2 separate regions of the Homo sapiens genome follow, and region 2 is linked to region 1. The links are contacts of gene promoters, found by promoter capture Hi-C in blood cells and fetal thymus (Javierre and others, 2016). All regions are on one chromosome and are shown on one strand. The core of a region is centred on a gene start or on the middle of the fragment in contact, and the rest is flanking DNA. Distances in the headings are between cores, read along the strand shown.

Evidence for each region. The method cuts DNA at HindIII sites, captures the fragments that hold promoters and counts their contacts. A CHiCAGO score of 5 or more calls a contact.
Region 2: a contact is called between a fragment that was not itself captured here and the fragment with the promoter of PFDN1 in region 1, in 11 of 17 cell types (monocytes, megakaryocytes, M2 macrophages and 8 more). The highest score is 14.8, in monocytes.

What each region holds. Positions count from the first base shown.
Region 1 is chr5:140,298,816-140,305,854 of GRCh38, reverse strand. It overlaps PFDN1 (prefoldin subunit 1), which reads left to right and starts at 2,754. Exons shown (of 4, transcript NM_002622.5): 1 at 2,754-2,814; 2 at 5,273-5,439. The coding sequence starts at 2,782. RefSeq lists a silencer at 2,645-2,849 and enhancers at 2,738-3,017, 6,409-6,925. The HindIII fragment of the contact is 1,473 bases long and covers 2,354-3,826 here.
Region 2 is chr5:140,344,689-140,351,727 of GRCh38, reverse strand. It overlaps HBEGF (heparin binding EGF like growth factor), which reads left to right and starts at 5,125. Exons shown (of 6, transcript NM_001945.3): 1 at 5,125-5,445; 2 at 5,644-5,817. The coding sequence starts at 5,400. RefSeq lists silencers at 4,841-4,890, 4,931-5,210. The HindIII fragment of the contact is 1,143 bases long and covers 2,026-3,168 here.

The DNA of each region.
Region 1 (7,039 bases), core at 1,505-4,004:
TAATCCAAGCTACTAGGGAGGCTGAGGCAGGAGAATTGCTGGAACCCGGGAGGTGGAGGCTGAAGTGAGCTGAGATTGAACCACTGCACTCTAGCCTGGGTGACAGAATGAGACCATGTCTCAAAAAAGAAAAAAAAAAAAAAAGGAAATTAAACTCATGAGGAAGAAGTAGTATACAAATACACAAAGAGAAACAATGACCAAACAAACAATGCAGAGAAGACTCTTGCCTAAGATCATATTACCCTTAAGTAGTATAATCAGTATTTGTACCCAGGTTGTCTGACAGCTTAGCCCAGGCTCTTAACTTTTACAGTCCATACATCTCTATGAGGACTCTTTCAAAAGTCTCATGAGGTAATGTACAGGACAGTATTTCAGACTTTTTTTGAATTTCAATATTCAATCACTATTTTATTTTATTTTATTTTATTTTATTTTTTGAGACAAGGTCTCACTCTGTCTTTCAGGCTGGAGTGCAATGACACAATTGATCCCCACTCACTGCAGCCTTGGCCTCCAGGCCTCACACAATTCTCCTGCCTCAGCCTCCTGAGTAGCTGGGACTACAGGGGCATGCCACCATGCCTGGCTAATCAGTCAGTATTTATTGATCATCTGTAATGAGAATCTAAGAAGGTCCCAGAGAATCAAAATATCAGATCCTTTTTACTCTTTCTCAAATTGGGGAGGAATGAGTCTTCTTTTTTTTTTCCAGAATAATTTATTCACATCCAGTATCCATTTTGTATTTTTTTCCCGTGATGCACTGTGACAGGTGTTCTAGGTACAAGAGGTGGAAGAACCATTATTCCATAGTTCTTGATTTCAAGGAGCTTACAGTCTAAGAAAAATGTTTTCTAAAAAAAGGTAGACAGTGTTATATGCCTTGAGAGAGAAATAGATGTTGTGAGGGGAGTTCAGAGGAGAGATTATCTTTGCTCTGTGTGATGGGGGATGTAGTGCCCATTTGCTGGACTTTGAAAGACAAACAGGACGGCGATTAACACCAGTGATTTATTGAGTATCTACTTGTGTGCATGGAGCTATGTTTGGAGCTTTTTATCCTGATCTCATTTATTTCTCACAATAACCCTGTTAGGTCAATATGGTCACTCTCAAACATGAGAAGACTGAAGCTCATTAAAAATAGGTGGCAGATGCTGGACGTGGTGGCTTGCCTGTAATCCCAGCCCTTTGGGAGGCCGAGGCAGGCGGATCACTTGAGGCTGGGAGTTGGAGACCAGCCTGGGCAACACGGTGAAACCCGTCTCTACCAAAACTACAAAAATTAGCCGGGCGTGGTGGCAGGCGCCTGTAATCCCAGCTACTCGGGAGGCTGAGGCAGGAGAATCACTTGATCCTGGGAGGCAGAGGTTGCAGTGAGCCGAGATCGTGCCACTGCATTCCAGCCTGGGTGACAGAGCGAGACCCTGGCTCAAAAAAAAAAAAAAAAAAAAAATGTGGCCGGGTGCGGTGGCTCAAGCCTTTAATATCAAAGCACTACAGCACTTTGGGCGACCAAGGCGAGCGGATTGTTTGAGCTCAGGAGTTTGAGACCAGCTTGGGCAACAAGGTGAAAACCCGTCTGTACAAAAATATAAAAATTAGCTGAGTGTGGGTGGCGCGCGCCTGTAGTCCCAGCGCTACTCACGAGGCTGAGGTGGGAGGATCGCTTGAGCGCGGGAGGTAGAGGCTGGAGTGAGTCGTGATTGCACCATTGCACTCGAGCCTGGGTGACAGAGCAAGATCCTGTCTCAAGAAACAAACAAACGTACAAAAAAAAAAAAAAACCCCACAAAATATCCAAGTGACTTGCTTAAAGTCACACAATTAGTAAATGGAACCAGACATAGGCTAAAGGCAGACCAAGCCTTGAATCTAGATTAGGCTGGTTCCAAATTCCCTGCCCTTTCATCTCCCTAACAGTTTGTTTTCTTTCTCTCTTTCTTTCTTTTTTTAAAAAATAAAATAAATTTCCTAATTATTTATGTAGCACTTTCTCTTAGCATAACAGTTTTTAGAGTAGGTTAACTTTTTTTTCCATTTCCAAAAGTCAATTATTATCTATTCTGGTTCAAATGCCAGGTCCTTTTATGGCAGAGATTCTCAAAAAAGTGATCCGCGGAGGAGTTGCACCATTAGGTCACTGGGGTAGTCTGCAAAAGTGCAAATTTCCAGACCCCATTCTCAAAGATTCTGAGTACGTTTGAGATGAGACCCAGAGAACCTGCATTTTTTTGTTTTTAAACAAACGTATTCAGCCTCTCTTGAGAACCACTGTGCCTAGAATGTCTTTGGGAAGCTTTTGGAAGTAATAAGTTCGTTTTGGAAAGAACACTCCAGACAAGCTTTCCAATAGTCTTTCCCAAACTGTCATGCCTGAGGTTCTGGACTTACTCTTACTCATTCCTGAGAGCACAGCGACTAGCTGAAGGACTGATCGACTGATGAGGGTTTGACCTCATCTACATACATCTCAATTTAGCAGCACATATTAAGCTAGCTGGCAAACTGCTTAAAGCCACATGGGAAATCTGCGCGTTGGGCTATGTCTGGAAGATACGGAGGAGCAAGCCAGACCTGACCGGTCAGGTAGTGAAGACACGGAATCCGAAACCCAAATATTTCAGGAGTCAATTCTCAGAGAAAGATAAGAAGCCCGGTTAGTCCAACTCATGCGCAGGCGCAGAAGAAAGACCGGCGCACAAAGTAAGACGCGCCCTTCCCCACCCTATTTCAGTCCAACTCCCACTGCGCAGGCGCTTACAGTGCACCAAGATGGCCGCCCCCGTGGATCTAGAGCTGAAGAAGGTAAAAGAGGGTCTTTGGCAGGCGGAGGTCTTCTTTTTGGAGGCTGAGGGGACTATAGACAAGAATATCAAGTGAGGCACGAGCCTTGCAGAAGGAAGGAGGGTCCAGTGGACTAGGGAATGGTTTCCCAGAGTCCTAAGGCCTCACTGGGTCTCCATAAACGGGGTGGGGGGCGAGCGGCTCTTGCTGGGTAGGAGCCGGTTGGTCTGGGTCGGGTAAGTCTGCGGGCCTGTCTCGGGCTTGTCCAGTCTTTCTGAGCTCCAGAGACATTTCGTTGCGTTTGGAGGCTTCAGGGACTCACTTTCATAGTAAGAACTAAAGAGAGCATTTCAAATGGGGGTCCCTTCGGACCCCTTGCCTGAGCTGTGGCATCCGTAATTCTGCCTCATTTGCTTTGAAAAACTCCAAGTCCAACCTTTGTTTTTAGGCCATTTATTCGGTTCTGTACCTTGAAAGTTGCAATATCTACAGTTCGGAAAACCAAGCATTGTAGCAGCAATGTTCATTTCAGGATTTTGCCCCCCCTCCACTTCTTTTGAAGGACTCGTCAAACAAAACAAAACAAAACCTCCTTCTTTTGAAGGAATTGTCAAAAACAAAACAAAACCAGTAAAGTTTTCCAAATAAAACCGGTATCGGAAGGAATTGGGTTTCCTGTTTTCCTCAGTTGCTTATAAATGTGTTGTTATTCAGATTTTTGCTATCTAAGAATGATCAGCATTCTAACACCACTAATGACCCCAAACCAGTATGCTTTGTGCGGTGGGGTGGATTGGAAAGGACCCTAGAATTTATCTATTTTAAATCTACTTTTCTGGAAAAGGAACCAGTGCCAGAAAAGTCTGTCAGAAGTTGGGACTAGAATCCAGTATTCTCTGCCTTATCTCACACTTTTTTGACCACTATTTTGAGTTCTTCAGATGAGCAACATCTTAGTTAAGACTGCCTGTGGTCAACTTGTGTAAAAGAAATAGGACAGCCGAAATAGCTGTTGCTTCTAACAAATGAAGCTTTTGTTAGTGTTGTGAGGATATTATGTGTTTGTGTCTTGCTTTTGTTCTTCTTGTCTTGAATCTTGTAAATTTAGCTCTTAGGTGGAGTCTCTAATCTTTAACAGTATACTAGCTCATCTTTAATGGTATACTAGCTTCCTTAGCAAGCTGTATAGAGCAGTCAGATGATACCTGGAATTTTACATTTCAAAACAAAATTGTGCATTCTAAAAATTTACCTTTTCTTCTGTTAAAAGTACCGATTTAAATCAGGGTTTAGTGAATGGATTTGCCTCCCGGTACTTTTGAATTTATTGCTACATTTGAAACTTGCGGGCGGTGAATGCAAACTAAGAAAATGATTACAAACTTAAAATGAATAATTTTGATAACCAATTAATTAAAAAACTTGTTTAAAGGTTTTATCTTCTAATGTTTTTACAGGGTCCTTTTTTTGGGTGGAGACAAATAGGAAATTTCAGGCCCCTCCCCTTCCCCAAAGTAAATCTTTCAAAACCTTACTAGTAGGTGAAAACAAGGTCACAATAAAAATTATGTAGTAGCCTTTGCTGTGCATTGCAGTCACAGATGTTATTAAGGCACAAATTTAACAGCATGTGAAAGTCATTCCAGGCACTTCAACAAAAGTATCCAAGAACTGTTTATCTTCCAGTTAAGTAAGTGTACGCAAGGGTCAAATTTGGCCTGGTATCTGTGGATGAAGATCATGATGCAATTCTTTTGCCAGTGCTTTGCATTTTTTCTCACTCTCTTTCTTGGTCTTCCTCTTAAAAATGTTCATATTATGAATATTACTATAGACAGTGGAATGGAAAGATTGCTGAACTAAGGGGTTAGAAGAAATGGATTTAAATAACACCTGCCTTCCCCCCAGTAGTTGTTCAACCTTGTGCAAGCCACTTTTATCTCTTAACTCATTTGGTTACTTAATTTGTAAATTGTGGATGATGAGACTGCCAATGCTAACTCATGGAATTACTGAGAGGCATAAATGAGATATTTATTATATTTCCTCATTAATATTCTTATATTAATATTCCCATGTTAATATTTCAAACTAATGTGAGAAAGTGCTTTGAAACCTAATTGTGCAATACAAATGTAGTGAGTTATTACTTTTATGGTTCTTGTTTTGAATCTCTGGATTTCATCCTTGACTATTGCATTTATTTCTTTTACTACTCCTTGAGTACTTGCTACTTAATATGGTTATTACTTAATATGCATTTGATTTGCTTCACACTGATTGTATCTTCTGATGATTGTAAATTCAGTATTTAGTATGGTGACTTGATTGTTTACAGTTATGTTGACTTTTATTGATGTTTGGTAAATTTCACAGCTTTGTCTCTGGCTAGCATATTTTGTTTTAATATATTTGGATTTGAGGTAAATGTTTCCTGTAAAATGTTTTACCTACTAAATCATGGACTTGTTTTTATTAGGCCTTCACAGAGCTTCAAGCCAAAGTTATTGACACTCAACAGAAGGTGAAGCTCGCAGACATACAGATTGAACAGCTAAACAGAACGAAAAAGCATGCACATCTTACAGATACAGAGATCATGACTTTGGTAGATGAGACTAACATGTATGAAGGTGTAGGAAGAATGTAAGTAAAATGTGTCCTTAATGGAGTTATTTTGGGAGTGCTTTTGTCCGAGTTAAATAGAATTTGTTCATCTTAAAACTTGGGTTAGGCCAGGAGTGGTGGCTCATGCCTGTAATCCTGGCACTTTGGGAGGTCGAGGCGAGTGGATCACTTGAGGGCAGCCTGTTGGCCAGTATGGTGGAACCCTGTATCTACCACAAATACAAAGATTAGCTGAGCATGGTGGCACTTGCCTGTAGTCTTGGCTACTTGGGAGGCTGAGGCAGGAGAGTCGCTTGAACCCCGGAGGTGGAGGTTGCAGTGAGCCGAAATCATGCCACTGCACTCCAGCCTGGGCAGCAGAGCTAGACTCTGTCTCAAAACAAAAGAAACTTTGGTTTAAAGTAAGTATCTTTTTCTTTTTGAGACGGAGTTTTCGCTATATCGCCCAGGCTGGAGTGCAATGGCCCGATCTTGGCTCACTGCAATCTCCGTCTCCTGGGTTCAAGCGATTCCCCTGCTTCAGCCTCCTGAGTGACTGGGATTACGGGCGCTTGCCACCACGCCCTGCTAATTTTTGTGTTTTTAGTAGAGACGGGGTTTTACCATATTTGCCAGGATGGTCTGGAACTCCTGACCTCCTGATCCGCCCACCTCAGCCTCCCAAAGTGCTGGATTACAGATATGAGTCACCACACCCGGCAGGTTAAAGTATCTTAGAAATAACTTTAAAGATTATCTAATTAAATGCTTTCTTTTTTTAAAATGAGGAGCTGAACTTCAGGTAGATTAATTAAAGTGTTTAAGTTTAGACTTTAAAGTACATTTTTTTTTTTTTTTTGAGACAGAGTCTCGCTCTGTTGCCAGGCTAGAGTGCAGTGGTGTGATTCTGGCTCACTGCAACCTCCGCCTCTTGGGTTCAAACAATTCTGCCTCAGCCTCCTGAGTAGCTGGGACTACAGGCGCATGCTACCATGCCCGGCTAATTTTTGTATTTTTAGTAGAAATGGGGTTTTACCGTGTTGGCCAGGATGGTCTCAATCTCTCCTCTTGATCCGCCCGCCTTGGCCTCCCACAGTGCTGGGATTACAGGCGTGAGCCACCGCCCCTGGCCTCAAAGTACATTTCTTAAGTGCTTACTTTCCTGTTCTGTCTATGATTAGGTACTTAAGTGTAAGTTCAGTAATAAAAATGATTTGTCATGGAAAATGTTTATAGCAATATTATATTGTATGTGAAGAAGATTTATTTAAGTAGGTGCAGTTTTAACCTCCTCTTCCCTGCTTAATTTATTAGGAGTGATACAAATCATAAATCTTTCAGATGTCTGATCAGTGTTGTAAAATAAAAATAAAAATTCAATTGTCATTTAAATACACTCATTCTGGCCAGGCATAGTGGCTCATGCCTGTAATCTCAGCACTGCAGGAGGCCAAGGTGGGTGGATCCCCTGAGGTTAGGGGTTTGAGACCAGCCTGGCCAACATGGTGAAACCCCATCTCTACTAAAAATACAAAAATTAGCGAGGCATGGTGGCGCACACCTGTAATCCCAGTTACGAGACTGAGGCAGGAGAACTGCTCGAACCCAGGAGGTGGAGGTTGCAGTGAGCCGAGATTGC
Region 2 (7,039 bases), core at 1,348-3,847, 46 kb before region 1:
AACAGGAGCTCTGACGTATTTATATAGGGCTTTTCATTTTGCCAAGCACTTCAGAGATGCTATCTCCTTCAGTTGTCACAAGAACCTCCTAAGTAGATTGTTATTCTCCCCACTTATAGACGAAGAAGCTGAGACACAGAGAGAAAGGTTATCACATCCTGTAAATCAGGCACTGTCAATTGTTATAGAATTGTCTCCCCAAGTCTTTTTTTTTTTTTTTTTTTTGAGACGGAGTCTTGCTTTGTCGCCCAGTCTAGAGTGCAGTGGTGCCATCACAGCTCACCGCAACCTGCACCTCCCAGGCTCAAGTGATTCTCCTGCCTCAGCCTCCTGAGTAGCTGGGATAACAGGTGCCTGCCACAACGCTCGGCTAATTTTTGTACTAATAAATAGAGACAGGGTTTTGCCATGTTGGCCAGGCTGGTCTCGAACTCCTGACCTCAGGTGATTTGCCCACCTCAGCCTCCCAAAGGGCTGGGATTACAGGCATGAGCCACCGCGCCCAGCCTCCTCAAGTCTTTTGACAGCAACATGACAGCAAATAATTCATGATGGACATACTGGCCGGTGCCTGAATGCAGGGTAATTGTTTCAAGTTCTCATTTTTCACTTGAGGAATCTGAGGCTTGAAGAGAGAGATGGGTGTGTAATGAGGGAGGAATCACTTTCTCTCTGTGCTGGCCAACACAGAGGGGATGGCTGTAGGGGCAAAGTCCTTGGTCTGGAGATGTTAATCATTCAAAGTCACAAAAATGGGACCAGAAATAGAGAAGGATGGTTTGGGATCCAGCACATTATAAATATTCCTTCCTCAACATCTTCTGGAGATGACAGGGATTCCTGAAACCCCCTCACCTCCAAAAGCCTCCCCCTATCTCATCCATTCCTATCCTTCATCCTATTCAAATAGATCCTAGCCCCAAACAATCAGACAGCAGAGCCTGTTCATCCCTGAATATGCATGAAGCACGCTACTTCCAGGTGCCCAGCCAGCATAAGAAGGTACACGGGGGCTCCAAAGGGCAGGCCTGAATTCTAATCTAATCCAGCTGTATGCCCAAACTGTTTGATTAACTGTCTCAGATGGGGTGAGAGAAGCCAGCCTGGGCCAAGAAGCAATGACCCCTCATCCTGACATTCCAAGTTTGGGTAACTCTGGGCTCATGGTCAGACCTACCCTTAATGGAGGTGCCCTTCTTTACCCCTCTCCCCAACGCAGCAGAGTTCAAGGGCTGTGCAGGATTCACTTCTGGTCAGAGGGGAATGAGAAGGCAGCTGAATCCTCTCCCCCAGGGGGCACAGCTTCCCTCTGACCTCTGAGCCTGAGTTGCTTTTTTGGGTTGAGGTTTCCAAAACTCTGGGTGGCCTTGCAGATCTAGCATCTCTTTGATAAGCATGGCCATCTCCCAGAAAGGAACACTTCATCTCTGAGGATGGCTAGCTCATGATAAACCAACATTTTATTCAAGTTCCCACTTAAAAAGAAAAAGGAAAGAAAGCAAGAAAAAAATTTGGTCATAATAACCGCTGTCATTGAGTAAGTACCTACTATGTGCCAGGCATCATATTCCGCTTTATACACATGATCTGACTGAATCATCACAAAAGCCCTATAATAATAACTACTATTATTGTCCCCACTTTTCAGGTGAGCAAACTGTAGGTAAGAGAAATTGAATAACATGTTCAAAGTTAGAAAGAAAAAAAAACCAACAAAATTTGAACCCCCAAGTATCTGACTCCCAAGACTGTATCCATTTCATTAGCTGCCCTGCTGTGCTTACCTAAGCATCCTTCCAGTCTAGTGAGCCAGAGTTTCTTATTATCCCTCAGAACAGATGAAGGACTGAAACTCAGTAAAACTGATAATGTTACCCTCCACAGAAGCATAGAGATGGCGGCTGTCGTCTCATCCATTTGAGTGTTGAGCTTAGGAGAGCACAAGCCCAAGTGAACGAGGGGGTTTCAAATTGAGGCTGAGACACTCACTAGCTGGGTGACCTTGGGATGTTACCTTTTAAAGCTTCAATCCTTTAAAATGCAGATGATGATAACAGTGTCTAGTTTGGGGGATGTTGTGAGGATCAAGCAAGATAATGCATGTGCAGTGTTGATTACAGGGGAATTGTCACCACTAGCACCGCTTTCTTCCAGGTCCTCCCCACTGGGGAGCAAGTGCTCTCTCCAAATCAAGAACTCTGGCCTAGCAGTGAGTCAGCAGCACTCAGAGTCCCATGGAGCCTGCCTTTCCAGAGGCCCAGGAAACTCGCATGGGCTGGGAAGCAGGATGCCAGGGTTTCTGCTCTGCACTTGCCCCCTTCTGACTCACTGGTGGCCCAGGGCTAATCAGTCTCCAAGCCTCAGTTTGCTCATGGTCAATAGACAGTCAATAAAAGCAGGCTTGTCTGTCTGAACTCTACTTCCTTAGGACTATGTTCCTGGCATTTGACAACCTGACATCCAGAGAGCAGGTGGGGGAGACCTGAGCAGGAGGAGGGGACAATATGGAGGAATCCTGCATGACAGTGCTGTCTCATTGACATCTCATATGATTCTGACAATAATGGGGCATAAAATCCAGTGTCTACCTTGGCTTATAACGTCCTCTTTTATCTGTTGCTAGCCTTTGTTCCAATATCATCCCATATCTCTCCTTTTTTGGCCCTCTTGCTTTTCCTTGAATGCTCCCAACTTTTTTCCATTTCAGAGTCTTTGCACTATTTGCACATCTTGGAATGCTTTTGTCATAGATGATCCCAAATCTGATTTCTTCTTCTCATTCAGGCCTCAGCTTACATGTCACCTGCTCAGAGAAGGCTTTGCTAATCAGTTTAAAGTGTCATCCTGGGCACTGGAACATATTATCCTACAGCACATCATTGTATTTTAACTTTCATCTTAGCAGTTATCACTATAGGATATGTTTTTCCTTGTTTATTTCCTTAATGTGCTGCCTGTCTACTATAGAATATAAGCTCTGTGAAAGCAGGTCCTGGGCTGTCTTATTTATTTCTATGTCCCCAGTGCCCCCCAAAAATGTTCAGTTAATGTTTATGATATAATTGAGTTAATGAGATTGCCTCAGCATGAATTGTGATTCCTTTTCTTTGCTCAGAGACATCCAAGATTCTGAGAGGGGAAGTGACTGTCCCAAATCCAATTCAAGCTTTTTATCTTCTTTTTTCAGGCCCTTCCTGTAAAACCTGGCTGACACACAAACCTAGCTGGGGTGAGGCTCCAGGTGTGATGAAAGTTTGGAGTTGCCCCATGAATGGGACTGAGGCTGATGTGGGGGTGAGAAGGCGGAAGGACAGAGCATGTGAAGGGAGAAAGGCAGGCTGGGGCAAGAGAGCAGGGTGTGACTCTGGCGAGGGTGGGGGAAAGGGGGTGATTTGACCATGTGTCAGGAAGTGTTTCTCTCCACCCTCCCCTGGGGAGAGCCTTGACCCCAAGGTGGCTTTGTTTTGGGGAAGCAGGTGGCCAGGCAGCTGCTGAGGGAGGGCAAAGTCATGGCTTGGGCGGTGACCATGCACTGAGGTCCTAGGCCCGATACTCATCACCCAAAAGGATAATCTAACAGTGGCTCTTAGCCAAATAGGTGACAGGTGAGCTTCTGTCTGAAACCAGCCCAACTATATCATAAAGCCTCAGATATGGCCTAGGGGAAGGCAAGCGATCTAGAGAAGTGAGAGAAAAGAGGCCTCTAAGGAAATAGAGTGGTCAAGTGCTTAGTGATTATTATTAACAGCAACAATAATAATGGGTCACATTTATTGAGAGCTTATAGTGTGCCTGGCACTATACTAACTACTTTTATGTGTTCCCGCATTCATTTCTCAAAAAGCTCCCTACAAAGTAGTCATTATTATTATTGTTATTATTTTTTCCATTTGAGAGACGTCAAAACTGAGGCTCAGTGAAATTAAGTTTCTTGTCCAAGGTCACACAGTAAGTAGCAAAGGCAGGATTCAAACTCAGGTCTGTAGTGATTCCAGTGCACTATGGAAACCTAGGCCTAGGTTACTGGAGCAAGTTAAGAGGGCAGGGCCAGACTGACCCCTGCAAAGGTGGGGATAGGGAGGGACAGTGGGATAGACTGTGTATAAATAGCAGGCCTGTTTTTATCCCTACACACAGGCAGAATCCGGCAAGTGCTCTATCTGGCACAATTTCAGGGCTCTGAAAGCCAACCCAGCCCTGTGTCAAACAACTCTCTCCCCAGCACGTCCCTGGAAACTGAAATACCTACTGAGACACTCATTTCTTTGGGTCAGGACAGTGACTCCAGAAGACCCCTGCAAAAGCACATGGGTTGGAAGAGAAACACCTAGTGTCTGTGAAACAGCAATCTAGGTTAGCCAGCTGGGTCCTATGGGAGGGTGGCTCATTTTTTATGTTGAGGAAAAAGGTGGCAGTCAAAGGCAAGGAAAAGAATAAGGCTTGTTTCACAACCTGTGTCTCTCCAATCTCAGAAGCCTGGGAATTACAACCCATAGTTCAAAAATCCTAATGTCCCCTGAGGGAAGATGGGAGGAAGCCACTCCAGAGACTAAGAGAGTACTAACTTCCTTTGCTTTTGCTGGATTGATACTAAGTGCCTGCAACTTCAACTCTGGTTATCTCGGGTTTATGAGAACGGCTGGCATTCACGTGTCTAATTTTTAAATGATAGATGAATTAATTATTATTTGATACTTGCCGTGTTGGTAGGCCAAAAGGTGGGCTTCTGAAACTTAGAGGGTGACAGGGATGGAGACCCCTGGTATGGGGCTTAGATGAAGCAAGAGGCCAGGCCCGGAACAGAACTCAGCTCAGCAGTCAGTCACAAGGCTGCAGAGTGACAGGCGTTTGGGGAAAGGTAGGAACCGCTCTCCGCCACCTGCCGGTCAGTAGCCCTACCCACAATCAGGCCGCGGCTGCCTCGGCCTGGTCCCAAAAATTGTGAACGCCGCCCTCTCCTCCCGCCCAGTCCTCCGCCGCGCCCGCGGGGTCGGGGGCTGCGCTGCCGGCGCCGCGAGCCGGGCGAGCTTCCCAGCACGGGAGGAGGGAGGGGGCGGCGCCGGGCGGGGCGGAGCTTCCGCGCCTCCTGGAGCCTTATTCCCGGCCGCGAGCCGGGCAGCGCTCATTCGGCCGAAGGAGCTACGCGGGCCACGCTGCTGGCTGGCCTGACCTAGGCGCGCGGGGTCGGGCGGCCGCGCGGGCGGGCTGAGTGAGCAAGACAAGACACTCAAGAAGAGCGAGCTGCGCCTGGGTCCCGGCCAGGCTTGCACGCAGAGGCGGGCGGCAGACGGTGCCCGGCGGAATCTCCTGAGCTCCGCCGCCCAGCTCTGGTGCCAGCGCCCAGTGGCCGCCGCTTCGAAAGTGACTGGTGCCTCGCCGCCTCCTCTCGGTGCGGGACCATGAAGCTGCTGCCGTCGGTGGTGCTGAAGCTCTTTCTGGCTGCAGGTAAGAGGGCTGCCGACGCCCCCGGAGATCGGGGGGATGGGGGCGTTGTGCTGGGGGCATGGGGGAAGGTCGCCGCAGCGCACCCGGCACGGGCCACTTGGTGGGGCCCTTGCGCTCTGGCGGACGGGCGTCGGCATCGGTGCGTGTTGGTCAGGGGTCTGGGCGGGTGTCTGATGCGGCCTGGCCTCTCGCCCGCAGTTCTCTCGGCACTGGTGACTGGCGAGAGCCTGGAGCGGCTTCGGAGAGGGCTAGCTGCTGGAACCAGCAACCCGGACCCTCCCACTGTATCCACGGACCAGCTGCTACCCCTAGGAGGCGGCCGGGACCGGAAAGTCCGTGACTTGCAAGAGGCAGATCTGGACCTTTTGAGAGGTGGGTGTGGAGGCCCCCCATCCTTGGACCTTGGTGGGCTGTTGAAGAATAAGCAGATCCAAGATTCTTGCTGTTTGGGCAATACTGTGGGTTGAGGGTATTCATGGAGAACCTCGGGGAAAAGCTGATCGGCCTGATGGGCACTGGGGGATCCTGGAATATAGGTCCCACTCTCTCTCTCTTGTCATTGCCTCACCTGCTGGGTTGCTGCCCTTCTGGGTACTCCGGGGCAAATTGAATCAGACGTGTTGTCTGGGGTTGTTACGTTCTTCTTAGGTAAGCTGGGTGATAGGAACAAGGAATGGTTGAGATGCTTTCCCTAGAGCTACTATGTAAAAATGGGCGCCAGTTCTAATTCCCATATCAAATGACTATTATATATAAAATAGAGGTAACACATGCGGAGATGCCCAGGCACATCTCTAGAAAGTGTGCAGTGTTGGCCTCCTCCATCCACCTGTCTCCAGATTGGGGAAACAGAGGGGAATGAGGAGCTCTTGGCCGCCCTAGATGAGGCTGTGAATGGTGAGCACTGAGCCCCTAGGGGGCTGTATTAAAATGCTGGATATCTGTGAATGCTACCGGAAACCTGCAGCTTACTGAGCACCTTGCATTCCTGAGGAGACTCCAAATGGGGAGGGCTGTGTAGGATCCTCCAACCAGCCTCTTTGGCTGTGGCCAAGTACAGGTACAGGGCAGAGTCCAGAGCCTGCCAGCTCTCCTGCCTCCAAACCTGAGGAGATTATCCAGAGTAGAGCAAGGACTCAGCACTGTACCCTGGAATGACTATATTTGGTTGGACAGATGCCCACCTGTTCTAGTTCCACCTGCTCCTCAGCTGCCCTTCTCCCTCATTCCCAGGAGCTTTCCTTGGATACTCTCTCTACTTTGTATAAATCAAGCACATACTCCAAAACTGAGCCTGGGCTCCCATACTTCATCCTCTCCCAGTGGCCCTCTGGGGTTGCCCATGACCTGAACAGCCTGGATTCTCCTGGCCCTCTCCTCCTAGGCTGGGCAGGGCTGGGCTGTGACTCACCCCACCCCCACCCCCCACCCACACGGCTGCTCCTCTTACCTCTGCAGACCTGACTCACTGCTCCCTGTCCATGGCAGGAGCCTGGCTGTCACCCTGCACCTTCTCCCTCCCCTTTCTGATTGGCTTGGCCCCCCTGCCTTGCTCTCCCCGAAGCTCTGGTCACTGGGTTCCTCTGACCACCTG